4 separate regions of the Homo sapiens genome follow, and all the other regions are linked to region 2. Evidence: promoter capture Hi-C in 16 types of primary human blood cells and fetal thymus (Javierre and others, 2016). All regions are on one chromosome and are shown on one strand. Each heading gives the region's core, a stretch centred on a gene start or on the middle of the fragment in contact. The rest is flanking DNA. Distances are from core to core; before and after follow the strand shown.

Region 1 (3,135 bases), core at 443-2,942, 990 kb before region 2:
CTTCCCTCAGAAGAGCACGCACTTCTGAAGGAAAGCATGAGAAGGAAACAGTAAGCCCAGCAAATGAACAAACCCTTCTCATACTGTATGAGGGACAGCATGAACTAGAACAAGGCAATTCATTCAAAGCCAGGGTGTAGAGATGGGTCACAAAACAATATCTGGCGAATTTGACATAGCGTACAGTTAACCTCCTACAAAAAGGACTTGACCTTGCTATAGGGCAAGGCAAACATTAAGGCTCCCTCTTCACATGGGGCACTTCACAGAAGCAACGGAACGTTTTGCAAACGATCCTCTCACTGAAGTTTACCCTTTTATTATTATTTAGGGCAATACCAAATATTTTGCAAAACTTGTGACAACAGTATCACAACACCTGTCTGGGCAGGAGAAGTAAAGAACGTTTAAAATGTTATTTCTTAGTCTAGTCCAGTAGTCATTTGCTAAACTACCAAAAAGGATATGGAATATAATTCAACTCAAATGCTACGTGCGGAAGACATTAAAAGCTTTCCTTAGATTACATCTTCACAGTAGAAATTGTAAATACTGACAAAAAGGAAGTGATTTCAGAGAAATTCTTTTGTGTAGCAAATGTTTCTTTCAAAAGTTACATAATTTCAGGGATACCGCAAGAAAAAAATAATGGATTAAACCCCTGCAACGGGATTTTTCAAAAAGTAGGATGTGAATTCTAACTGGCAGCATCCGACCAACTCCTGACCCCCAGCAATCTGCGTGCAGCACGCATTTGTCAACCGCGCGCTTGATCACAGCTCCAGTTTAATCGCCTCCTAGCCGAGCCCCGCACGCCCTCCCCCCTGCGCTGGGGCGCGCACAGGGCTGGAGAGCAAGCCCCGGGAACTCTCACAGGCCGGCCTGTGTGAGCAAAGGGAAGGAAATGACACAGGCAGGAAAAAAAAGCAAATCAAGGAAAAGACACAACAGCAGCTGGGCCTGCGGCAGCCTCCAGCCCGGGCCCCACACTGCGCTCTTGCTCCCCCGCCCTCGGGCTCGCGGTCCGGCTCGTTCGGACCAGGCTGCCCCGCGGAGCACGGGCCCTCGGTCCCGCCGCCGCTTCCCCGGGATGCGCCCGCCGCGCCGCCCAGAAGGAGGGCTGCCGAGCGGGCTCTGCCGGCCGGGCCGCCCCGCGGAGCCAGAACCCCCGCCCGGGCCGCGGCGCGCGAGCGGGGCGGGCGGCCGGCCGGCCGGCGGTCCGCAGCCCCGGGCCGGGCGGGCTGTCCATGCCTGTCAGGCGGTGGCCCAGGGTCCTCCTCCCTCAGCCTGGGGCGGGGCGTCGCGAAGCAGCGCGGGCACAGGCCGGGGCGGTGGCGACACTTACCCATGGTGGCGATGGCGGCGGCGGTGGCTAAGGTCCGTGAGTGTCACCTCCGCAGCCGGGGCTGCATGCCGGGGGCCCGGGCGGCGGGGACGGCAGCGGGCCTGGCTCCGCGCGGGGGGCGCGGGCTGCGCTCTGGGCCCCCGCCGCCTCCCCAGGCTCCGGCTCCGGCTCCGCCCGCGGCCGGGCGCTGTGGCATCGGCAGGGTGGCCCGCTACATCCCGGGCGCTCCTGGGCTCGGCCCAGCCCGGCCTCGGCGGCGCCGCTCGGCCCGCCCGCCCGCCAGTCCCTCAGACCCGCAGTCTCTCCGTCCGGCCACCGTTCTCCACCTCAGGAACGCTCCGAAAAACAAACCGCTGGTCGCGCAGCTCGCCCCCCTGTCTGTCACTCACGCCGGCCCCCACCAATCCCAGGCAGCCGCTGGGCCGTCGCACCACCCCCACCCACCTCACCAGCCAATAACAAGAAGGAAGTCGGCAGCCCCCGCCGTCCCCCTCCAACTCTCTCCCAACACCCTAACTCTCAGCGGCCAGCTAATCATCAGCACCACACGATGAACCAATCCCGCCTACTCTCACAGGATGCCAATGGGCGAAGCCAAGGCGGTTTCCGAGGGCTGTCTAGCGCCTGCCAATCATCGGGACAGCGCCCGGCTCCCTGCGCTGTTAGCCAATCACGTAGAGGCCTCTAAGCCCCCGCCTCTGCGCATCCCTCTCTGGTGCTGTCTCCCTCTCTTGGGAGAGATTGGGAGGTGTTGGTTGTTCCAATCACAGCTCCGGCGTGAGGCTCCGCCCACATTCCCACCTCCCGTCAGTCACCGAAGGCTCGGCGGGCGCGCGGGCTGGCGCAGTTCCCCGCCGGCTACTTTAGGGCTGGGGTGAGGAGTAGGCGGCTGCAGGGGGCCCTCAGGCCTTCCGCCCTCCGGGTTCTCGGAGGCCCCAGCGATCTGGGTGGTTCCAGAGGGTGGCGTCCTGCTCCTCCCCGTGCCCAGCACAGGGCGTGTAACGAGTGGGGAGGGTCTGGCCTGAGCACTTCCCGGCGCGCGGCCACCTCTGCGGCCCCATCCCCCGACTGGTCCTCCGGTCCCGACGCTGCTCTTGCCCCGGGCAGGGGCGGCCGGCCCAGCCCAGCTTTCCCTGTCTCACACCTCCAGGGCCACACCCTCTGGTCTAGGTACCTCAGACACCCGAGGCTGGGATAGTGCTGGCATGTGGGTCCCTGGAAATCTGAGTTCCGCCAGAGGTTCTTTCAGAAAATAACTTTTTTCTTATAAAAGCAACACGAGCTTTTTGTAGGAAAATTGAAAAATGCAGAAAACTATGAAAAAGAAAAGATCCCACCCCAGAGATAATCTATTTCCTACCTAGATAGGCGTTTGACAAAAATGGCTTTGTATTGTTTTGTAGTATGCTTACATTTTATTCTGTTTTCCCGTGCCACCAAATATCCTTCCAAAACAATTGTACTGATTGCATGATGTTTCAAAATTAAAGGCACCATAATTAATTTCCCCAACCTTTTCATTGTTCAACATTTTATACACTCAGATCTTCAGATTCCAAGTCCACCACAATTAATGTGGGCTCCTTTCTCCGGCCTCTGTTCCAGTGTAATATGTCAGGCTCCAGAATAATCTTCCTCAGATGTCATTGTCCACTGTCCACTAAGAACATTTAGTGGTGGCTTTGCCTTGAGTGTCAAATCCCTTAAGAATTACCTTGGGCTCTCCCCTATTTCTTTTCTTTTTCTTTTTTATTTTTCGAGATGGAGTCTCACACTGTCGTCCAGGCTGG
Region 2 (2,896 bases), core at 93-2,592:
TGTGCCTACGTCACGCCAGGCCAACCCAGCAAGCACGGGCCAGGCTGGAGGCCCCAGACTCTCCAGGGGGCTGTCTGGTCCTTGCACAAAACTGCAGACACTGCACGGACTGTCCCCATCCCCCAATTAAACAGCCAGCAGGACCAAGCTGGGCCGGGCGATTCCCCCGGTCACTCCAGACACCCCCACCCCCACTCCCCCAGGAAGTGGATCTTTCCTTTCAACTCTTAGATTCTTGGCGAGGGATCTGTCTGTCCCCACACTTCACTGTTACCCCTGAATAAGGAGCAGGAAGAGAATGGCACAGTTTTGGGGTTTTCTGATTTTTGTTTTGTTTCCTGTTCGTTGGGTTTTAAAATCTTTAGCAGCTCTTTTGCCGCTCAAGGTCTGTCCCCTCTGGAGGGCCACTAGTGTGCCCAGAGCTGCCCACGCTACGCAACATCACAGCACGGCGGCGCCCAGCCTGTTGCTGCGTCCCAGTGGCAGGAGCCTCCTCACAGGGCTGCCGAGCTCACGCGGGGCGGATGCCGCGCGCCACAAGCCTCCTTGAAGACTAAGTGTGGAAAAGAAAATATCAACGCCCACGAGATGCAGGGGGCGGGGGGAAGGTGGGGGAAACGAACCCTCGCGGATAGTTGGAAAGCCGTCCTAACGCATCAGTCCTGGGGCAGAGCGAGGAGACTGGGCCCGGGAACTCCCGGACAGAGAGCCCTGGCTCCCCGGGCGCGCCCTGCAGGTCCCCTGCCGAGGACGGGCCGGCGCCGGGTGGTCCGGGAGCGCGGTGCGCGGGGGTCCTCAAGAGCCCACCCGCTTCCTCCTAGGCTGCTGGAGTCCCCCGGGCTCCCCTCCCCCGCCGCCCGCCACATCTGGTTCCACTCAGGTCCTCCCCCACCTCTAGGCGCGCTCCTCCTCCCCTCTCCTCCCCCGCTTTCAGAAAAGCGGAGACGAGTTTTAAAAACCCAGTCACACACACACGCACACACGCTTCTGGAGAAAAGAGGGGGGAAAAGGAGGGAAAAGTCGAGAGCGGCCCGCGCCTCGGCGCTCCCCCCGCCCGGGCCCTGAAGTTGGCCAAGTTGGCAGCGCCTTACCCGGGAGGGCGGCGTCCCCAGGGGCGCCGGGACGGCCGAGGTGCAGGCACCCGAGGAGCAGGACGCAGCGCAGCAGGTGACGAGGCCAGGGCGCGGGGGCCGGCCGGCCGGGCCCCATCCCCGAGCGCGGCGCTCAGTGGACGCGGGGACCGAGGGCGCACAGGCGCAACGCGCTGTGGCAGCCCCGAGGCTGGGCTGTGATGACCGCCCGCAAGGGGCTCGCGTCCTCCTCCGGGTCGGGACGAAGTGATGCCTCCCGGGGAGGAGGAGGGAGGAGGCAGCCCGGGCGGAGGGAGGGCGGAGGGAGGAGCGCAGAACCGGGGAGGAGGGTTCGAGGGGTAGAGGGGAAGGGAAGTGGGCAGCGTGGGAGGGGAAGGGGAGGAGGCGCGGGTCTGGGGCTAGAGCGTCGGGAGGGAGAGAAAGGGGTGGCGGAGAGGAGGACACGCCGGGTCCAGGAGGACCCCAGCGTGCGCCCTTTCTCTTGCTGCTCTGTTTCCCAGTCTCTCCCCGCCTCGCCTTCCCTCTCTTCTGTCCCGGCCAGGATCCCCAGACGCTGCGTCACAACTCCCCCGCTGGCGCGGGCGGGGAAGCAACTGCAAAACTTTCCGCAAACTTCACGGCGTGGTGGGACCTGGGCTACGAGGTCCGGCCAGCCCGGGGCGGGGGCGTGCAGCTGACCCAGGTGGCCAGACCCGGGCCGCCAGCATCCGCCCCGCCATCCCGCCTCTTTCTGCGGGCGTCTCCAGCAGCCTAGCATCCCCTACCTCCATGCCGAGGAGGACCCCTCCCCCGGTCTGGTGGGGAAGGGGCGGAGCCCAGGGCCTGGCCACCAGGGCGAAGATTGGGGGAGGGGGAGGCAGAGCCCTTGTTACGTGTGCGGAGCGCAACAATTCTTGCACGTCTTGTTTTAGCATTTTCGTGACCCCTGTGTCAGTGTTCCCGGTGCAGGAGTGTAGCACTTTTGCTTGTTGGGGCTGCATCCAGAAACCTGGGGAAAATCTGTCCACTGGACGTCTCAGAAGACCGGCATCATCACTCCCACCAACTGGACTGCTGGCCGGTAGCAAAAGACCAGCTGGAAATTTCATAAAAGGTTAGACAATCCACAGTTACTCAGTGTTACGCAACAGGTCTCTGCAGCACAGAGCACGAACTGGGGAGTCAGGATGCTGGAGTCCAGCCCTGCCTCTCTGCGGATTCCCTGCCTGACCTTGGGAAAGCCTCTTGGGGTCTCGGGGCATAGGGCAGGACTGAGACGTTGAGACCCCAAGTGCAAAGAAGACACATTTCTCCTACCACGAGTAATCAAAAACACTATGAAACTGTAATATGGGCCGGGTGCGGTGGCTCACGCCTGTAATCACACTTTCGGAGGCCGAGGAGATTGAGCCCAGGAGTTGAAGACCAGCCTGGGCAACATAGGCAGATCCCATCTCATTTTGTTAATATAAAATTTTTAAATAATAATAAAACTGTAATATAAATTGTATTGTTTCCTATCTTGTCCACCTTGGTATGTTTTTTGGAAATAAATTCAATTTTTTTCCTTTTTATTCCTCCTATCTTGGGTAAATGTTTCCCCAACTCTGCAGTGGGGGTGTTGGGTCAGAAATGCTCACTCGTCTCTTCCCATCTCTGTCAGGCTGAGGCTCTTGGTAAACAGTCCAGTGGTAATAGAGCCTCGAAGCAAGCCCCCACTGAAATCCCCTAGAGGCCCCTGGAAAGGGTCCCATTAGCCACCCTTTGGTTAGCAGCCAGACCAACAAAGCCCCTGCACTCCACGGCTAGCTTCAGCAGGTCCGACA
Region 3 (3,131 bases), core at 87-2,586, 790 kb before region 2:
CCTTCTGGCCTCTCTGGGAATAGTGGAGAAATGCCCCATTTTGTCAGTCCAGCCAGGCCCTTCGGGAAGTTGTTTTGGTGCCCAAACACACACCAGGCAGTATGAGAGTTGGGTGGGGTTGTCATTTACAGGGTCACTGTCAAGTAGCTTAGGAACAAAAAAAACTACATATTTAAAAATCTTGCTGATCCAGCAGAAATTTTTCTTTATATTCTCAATATTTTAGCTCCAAATTTCAGGCCTGTTCTACTCTAGGCAAGAACCCTGTCCTCTGCCCTTTCTAACCCTCATCTCTCAGAATTGCTGTGTCTCCATTTGCTCTATCAAAGTGGGGCAGGCATTAGGCTTGCTGACTAGGTCACTCGGGGCTGGAGCTGAGCTGACTCCAAGGAGACTCTAATTTACAAATGAAGAAATGAACTGTCAGAGACATTCCCATCTTCTCTACTAATATCACCTGACAGGGGCAACTGACCTTGTGAAAAAGGAACTACCCAGAGGGAAGGAGAATTTCAGTCAGATTTCTGTGAGGACTTCGTTGCCCCAGCTAGGTAAGAGTGCGATCACTGCCACCACCATCACTAGCCTCAAGCTGGGTGTGATTTTCGGGACCATGTGCCCCTGGCCATAGCAGTGAACCTGAAGCAGTTCTTTCCCATGCAGCTGGGGAGGAGGAGGGCAGGAGGCATAAGAGACAGTGACAAGTTACACAAAGATCACTGATGGCAGGTTCTAGGTTATTCTGGGAGCTTTTCTGCCCAGTGGCCAAACTAAAGCAGATGGGCACAAGGAATGTGGAATGGTGTTCTCTTAGAGGGTCCTCTCCATCCTGGCAGCAAGGACCTCTTGACTCTGTGTGTGTGTGGTGGGTGATGGTTTAGGTGGAAGGGGGTCTGATGCCACCAGACTTGAGGAGAGCCCCAGAGGGAAGACTAACTAATCCGGGATTCCTCAAACGCCTATGGGAGAAGGAAGAGGAACCTGTGATGTTAAGTGAACCATCCTACTTTCCCTCTAAAGCGGGGGTGGGGTGCTCTGCTTAAGTGATTTCTTTAAGTCGCCGTTGTCTCTTTGTGCTAGCTGCTCTGGGGGTTGAAAAATGCCTGAGATACGGCAGAGGCTTCTTGGAAGAAGCTGCCATTCTCCAGTGAAAAAGTGTTTTTCTCCCGAAGTGAAACATTCGTGGCCTCCACAGCCCAGCAGATTTGCTGATCTTGAGCTGAGGGCTGTGCTATGGGAGCCATCCCCAAAGCTTGGCCCTGACAGTTCTCAAGGACAGAGATGTATTTGGGTACATATGCCCCAGGGTGGCCGACGCTGCCTTGGCCAAATTTTCAGAAAAGAGACCTCTTGCTTTCACCCTCTCTCTCTCTCCTCACCTGCTGCTGCGTTTTGCCCTTGCTCTCGCATAGTAAGCTTCATAAGATTTCGGTTTCAGCTCCAGGGCCTTAGTAGCAAATTCCTCCGCCATTCCAAAATCCTGTCATTACAATAGGTGTGCAAATGAGTCATTGATGAGATATAAAAAATAGACAACTTGGGAATAAAACAAATTATTTGTACATTTTTTGACATTCATGGATGGAACGCCTGGGACGCTAGACGTGCCTGACATGGCTCAAGCCGCGTGGCCTGTGGACTGAAAGTTCCTTCTGCCTTTGTCCTGTGTAGCGCTGCGACTGCTCACTGGACTTTATCTGCCCAGAATATTAAAATAGTTTTAATTTTCCCTCTTTTTGCCTTTCTAATAAAGTTCTCAGCCCGGAAGCCAAACACCAACCCTTTCCAGTGAAGCTCCTGAAGTTATCCATGCATGTAGGAGGCAAACGCACACATGTCCACATTTCACGTGGACCCTGGTCTGAGCCCCACACCTTCCTGCTACATGCACTACACTGTGGCTTTCTAAGGGACAGGTGAGAAGGTGTCCTGTAAAGTCCGGGAGGATGACGTCTGTAAAGGAAACTGCACTGACTACAGAGACTAGAGGGAGAGGGGGTGTCAGACAGACCTGGGTTCAATTCTCTGACCAGCTTCATAACCCCCAAGTGTATAGTGTATTTTCTCATCCATACCTACCCCGGGGGTAGGATCAAGTGTGATACAGTATTTAAAAGCCCTGCACAGTTCCCGGCACATAGTAGGTGCTCATTAATTATCGTTTTCTTTCTATTTCACAGAGGCTTCTCTGATCTGTTCCTTTTTTTAACTGGTTCCTTACTTAGGAAACACTTAAAATTAAAAATAAAACAAAACAAGAGAAGACCCCAGCTGTGACTGAGGTCTGTGCTCTCCCTAGAGGAACACGCTCACAGGCATGTCATTCCTGAGAACCCCTGGAAACAGAGACTGGGGGGTGGGGTGGGGAACAACGCCGACTAGGCAGCCTATGGTTTTCAGTATTCCCTTAAATACTAAGCTAAAAGAGAAGGCTTTCCCCTTCTTTTAGTGTCAAAGCCACAGTATAGCATGGTAGCCTCTGGTTATGGTCATGAGTCCTAAGGCAGAAAACAAGGCCTTGGGCAGAACAAAGGCCCTGGGGCATAGGTAAAAAAATTTTTTAAAAGTTGATGGGAAATCCTCTACCTAAGAAGACAGACGTCTGGTGTTTGGCACAGTATTGGCCCAGGAGGTGATTAACAACCGCTTCTGAACAAATGTGGAGCTAGAAAGAATTTCAGCTTTTATGGGTCACCCTCTCCCTGCTCTGCTTCCAGCCTTACCCTTTTATTTGTTCTTTTGGGACCATCATTATTCCTAAAAATATGAGGGCATTTTTAAAAAGTCTATTATTTGGTAGGGAAAAGAGATCAGTGGGTTGGCAGCAACTTCTGAGCTTTGCCTCATCCTCATCGGCTGGTGCAGGGGAGGCCTTGGTGCTGTTCCTTTCATTTCACAGGAGACCCCAAGAGCATGAAAATCTGTCTCCCGAGACCGCCACCTTCTCCCTTCCCGGGGTTGGGGGGCCTCTTCCACATCCCCACTTCCCTCAGCACCCTGGAGCAACTCTGCCTCTGAGGGCCATGGCCGTGTTCTCTGAGACAGTCAGGTTTAACTCTGCCTCTGAAGGTCATGGCTGTGTTCTCTGAGATAGGTTTAACTCTGCCTCTGAAGGTCATGGCTGTGTTCTC
Region 4 (2,845 bases), core at 252-2,751, 750 kb before region 2:
GGCTCAGGAATGTGTGTGTATTTTTAAAAAAACTCTGCAAGAGAATCTAATGTATAGCCAGAGTTGAAAATCACTGACCTACATCTATAGAGAAATCTCAAAGACAGAATGCTGAGTGAAAAAGAGAAAAAAGTTATAGAATCTTATAGCATTAAAAAACCCAAAATAGTTGTATATATTGTTTATGAACAGGAACCTACATTGGAAAAGTGTAAAATATAGATGAGAAGAACATGTTAGGGGTGTTAGCATGTGCTAAATCCCAACACATTTAGAATAGGAGTTATCTCTAAGGGAGACAGAGAAATGGGGTAAAAGAGAAATACAAAAGCGTTATCTATTATATTTGTTACATTCATTTCTTAAAAATAAAGAAAAATATTTGAAGCAAACATGGAAAAATGTTAACATTTGTTAAATCTGGTAGATAATATTTGATTACATGCAATTATCTGTACTTTTCTATATTTCATAATGCAATTAAAGAGGAATAGGAACATCTTTTCTTCTAAAACAAGAAAAAAAGAGGTAAGAATTGATAATGATATAGATTGATTTGCTGGTGAGGGGAGGAAAATAGTTAAAGGAAGTCACACTTGGTAGCTTTGATCTTTTTCAGTGACTCACAAGTTAGGCTGTTTGTTTCATTAGTTGGCTTTATTAAGAGCTAGAGGAAAAAGAAATGGGAAAAGGAGCTGAGTAAGAATGGACCTTGGTAAATGAATGTCAACTAAATGGTCCAGTAAATGGACCACAAAGCAGCACTGAGAACCGCACTGAGGCTGGACTAGATACATAAGAAATACGCCTGAAATACATAGCTTTGGATTTGGAATACTAGCTTTACTTGTACTATGGACTTTTGATTTCTTCTGGTTAGTGGAGTTGACCCTTTGTTCCTGTGAAGTACGGGAGAAAAGAGCGTCAGTTTGGTTCAATTCAACAAAGATGACAGGCAGAGAAGTGTGATCCCATTACCAGCCAGGATGTAGCCAAAAATAATGCATAATTAAATTCTAAGCTCATGGTTTCTTAAAGAGAATTTTATGTTCGAATAGCTTGAAAAAGTGCCTCTTCAGTATCTGTAACTATTGCTCAGGTAAGGGATCTTTTTGTCGGCAATAAATGGTAATGGAGTCCCTTCCTTAGAATCTAAATTTACAAAACTGTTTAGCAGCCAGTGATAAGCTTGCTCAAGATTTTTGAATACTTAAGAAAACAGGGAAAGCATGAAGAAACAAGAGCAATCTCATCTTAGGGATCTTTAGCTGTGGCTCAGGTATCTGAAGATCATGGCAAAAACTAACCTTGGGGGCTTATCCAATGAGCTTCTTTAAAGCGGGTTATTTACAAACATCACCTTTATGAATATAAAACCAGAGAAATGTAAAATTAATTGGAAAAAAGTACCCATTGGATTGTGTGTCACTGCTGAATAGAAGTTTCAAGTGGAACTATTTCTAACCATAAAGTCTATATTTGTCTTTGACCCACAGCTGGTGCAGATTGAGAATTCTAGCAGTTTGGGAGAAGTTAAAGCCTCTCAACAGGGAACACTGCATTTAAAGGATCCTGTAAACTGCAGCACCAGGAAAACCATAGTCCAAGTCTTCATTCTTCAGCTTGCAGTCACGTCACCACCATATGCTGTACACTAGAGTATTTATGGCTTGAATCACACATGGAGCCAGTCTTATCTCAGGCAACCATGCTGTCTGCATCAGTATAAGATAAAACTGTGCTAATGACAGGAGGGCATGTTTAAATGTACGTTTCCATGTATGGGATAAAATACTTCGTCAAATGAAGCTTGGTCAAATGAAGCTTCATGCTACTTCTCTGTGAATGTGGTATTTATTTTATGGGGCAGCAAAGGCAGGGATTAGCTTCATTTTTGCATCTGATTCTAGGCAGATAGTGATGCTAAAAGGTTAATGCTTAAGTTACTGTCTTTCAGTTACTATCTAACAGCAGGACAATGCTCTTAGAGTTTATGGAATTATTAGCTACTTTTTAGTCTGCTTGAAACTGGAATGCCATACCTTGCCAGTTATTTTAGCTCCACTCTGCTCCTACTAAGTAAGGTCATTTTTGGTACAGTGATTTGTTAGACAAGACAAGTAAGATTCAAATACAAGATTTGTCACTGTGGGTTTCACTTCTGTCCATCTGATGACCAGGCTGCTCTGGCTCTGTGCTTATATATTGGGAAGAATTTGCTAGGCTCTTGAAGTTATCCTTAATGCCATCTTTCTCTCTGAAGACAATGGTTTCATTTTTTAACAATATCCTGTGGGGGAAGCCTGACCCAGAGAACTGTTTAAGATACCCATATTCTCCATCCTGAGGCAGGAAAAGAATTCTGAAAAGGCTGTAGGGATTGGAACTCTCAGACTGTGGGACAGAAAAATTAGCACAGTAACTTCCTTCTCCACTTTTGTGGGTTAACCCAAAACTGTTATCTGAACTACAAATTCCTTAAGATTAGGGATTGTATCTTTTTTGTTTTTGTATCTCTAGTACCCAGTTTAATGCCTCAGTAAGTGATGAATAAACAAATGAATGCATACATGCACAAACAAATTATGTGTCCTCTTTTTGGTCCTCCATTTCAGCCTTCTGAAGGCTGAGAGAGAAGCTGATGTTATAGAGTTCTTAAAGGTTTTCAAACTAATGGGAGAAAAACTGGGATATAATTTGAAGAGAGATTTGGGGGAAGTAGCTCCAAGGAAGGTTAGTGTTGGTTTGAAAGTCATAGCACCAGGAATGTTATTATTGTCACTAAAACAATTTTAAAAAATGGAAAGAGTAATTGCCCTCAGTGATTTTTTAGACATCATGAAAA

The links. Contacts are between HindIII fragments. The CHiCAGO score rates a contact against its expected background, and 5 or more counts as called.
Region 1: the fragment with the promoter of MAP3K3 here is called in contact with the fragment with the promoter of MRC2 in region 2 in 1 of 17 cell types (fetal thymus); the score reaches 6.3 in fetal thymus.
Region 3: a fragment that was not itself captured here is called in contact with the fragment with the promoter of MRC2 in region 2 in 2 of 17 cell types (M0 macrophages and megakaryocytes); the score reaches 7.2 in M0 macrophages.
Region 4: a fragment that was not itself captured here is called in contact with the fragment with the promoter of MRC2 in region 2 in 3 of 17 cell types (neutrophils, M1 macrophages and total CD8 T cells); the score reaches 6.5 in neutrophils.

What each region holds. Positions count from the first base shown.
Region 1 is chr17:63,620,974-63,624,108 of GRCh38, reverse strand. It overlaps MAP3K3 (mitogen-activated protein kinase kinase kinase 3), which reads right to left and starts at 1,692. Exons shown (of 16, transcript NM_002401.5): 1 at 1,346-1,692. The coding sequence starts at 1,349. RefSeq lists silencers at 942-991, 1,232-1,291, 1,382-1,771, 2,382-2,451. The HindIII fragment of the contact is 2,948 bases long and covers 515-3,135 here.
Region 2 is chr17:62,626,116-62,629,011 of GRCh38, reverse strand. It overlaps MRC2 (mannose receptor C-type 2), which reads right to left and starts at 1,342. Exons shown (of 30, transcript NM_006039.5): 1 at 1,092-1,342. The coding sequence starts at 1,209. LOC107985020 (a long non-coding RNA gene) reads left to right here and starts at 962. Exons shown (of 2, transcript XR_001752961.3): 1 at 962-1,167; 2 at 2,003-2,575. RefSeq lists silencers at 713-782, 983-1,422 and an enhancer at 2,616-2,896. The HindIII fragment of the contact is 5,047 bases long and covers 1-2,896 here.
Region 3 is chr17:63,416,656-63,419,786 of GRCh38, reverse strand. TANC2 (tetratricopeptide repeat, ankyrin repeat and coiled-coil containing 2) reads right to left here. Exons shown (of 28, transcript NM_001394998.1): 27 at 1,380-1,480. Among named protein-coding and RNA genes, the nearest start is that of CYB561, 28 kb to the left of the region's middle. The HindIII fragment of the contact is 164 bases long and covers 1,255-1,418 here.
Region 4 is chr17:63,380,147-63,382,991 of GRCh38, reverse strand. All of the region lies in intron 15 of TANC2 (tetratricopeptide repeat, ankyrin repeat and coiled-coil containing 2), which reads right to left. LOC105371856 (a long non-coding RNA gene) reads left to right here. Exons shown (of 4, transcript NR_188626.1): 4 at 1,497-1,761. Among named protein-coding and RNA genes, the nearest start is that of CYB561, 65 kb to the left of the region's middle. RefSeq lists a silencer at 1,490-1,784 and an enhancer at 1,490-1,784. The HindIII fragment of the contact is 621 bases long and covers 1,191-1,811 here.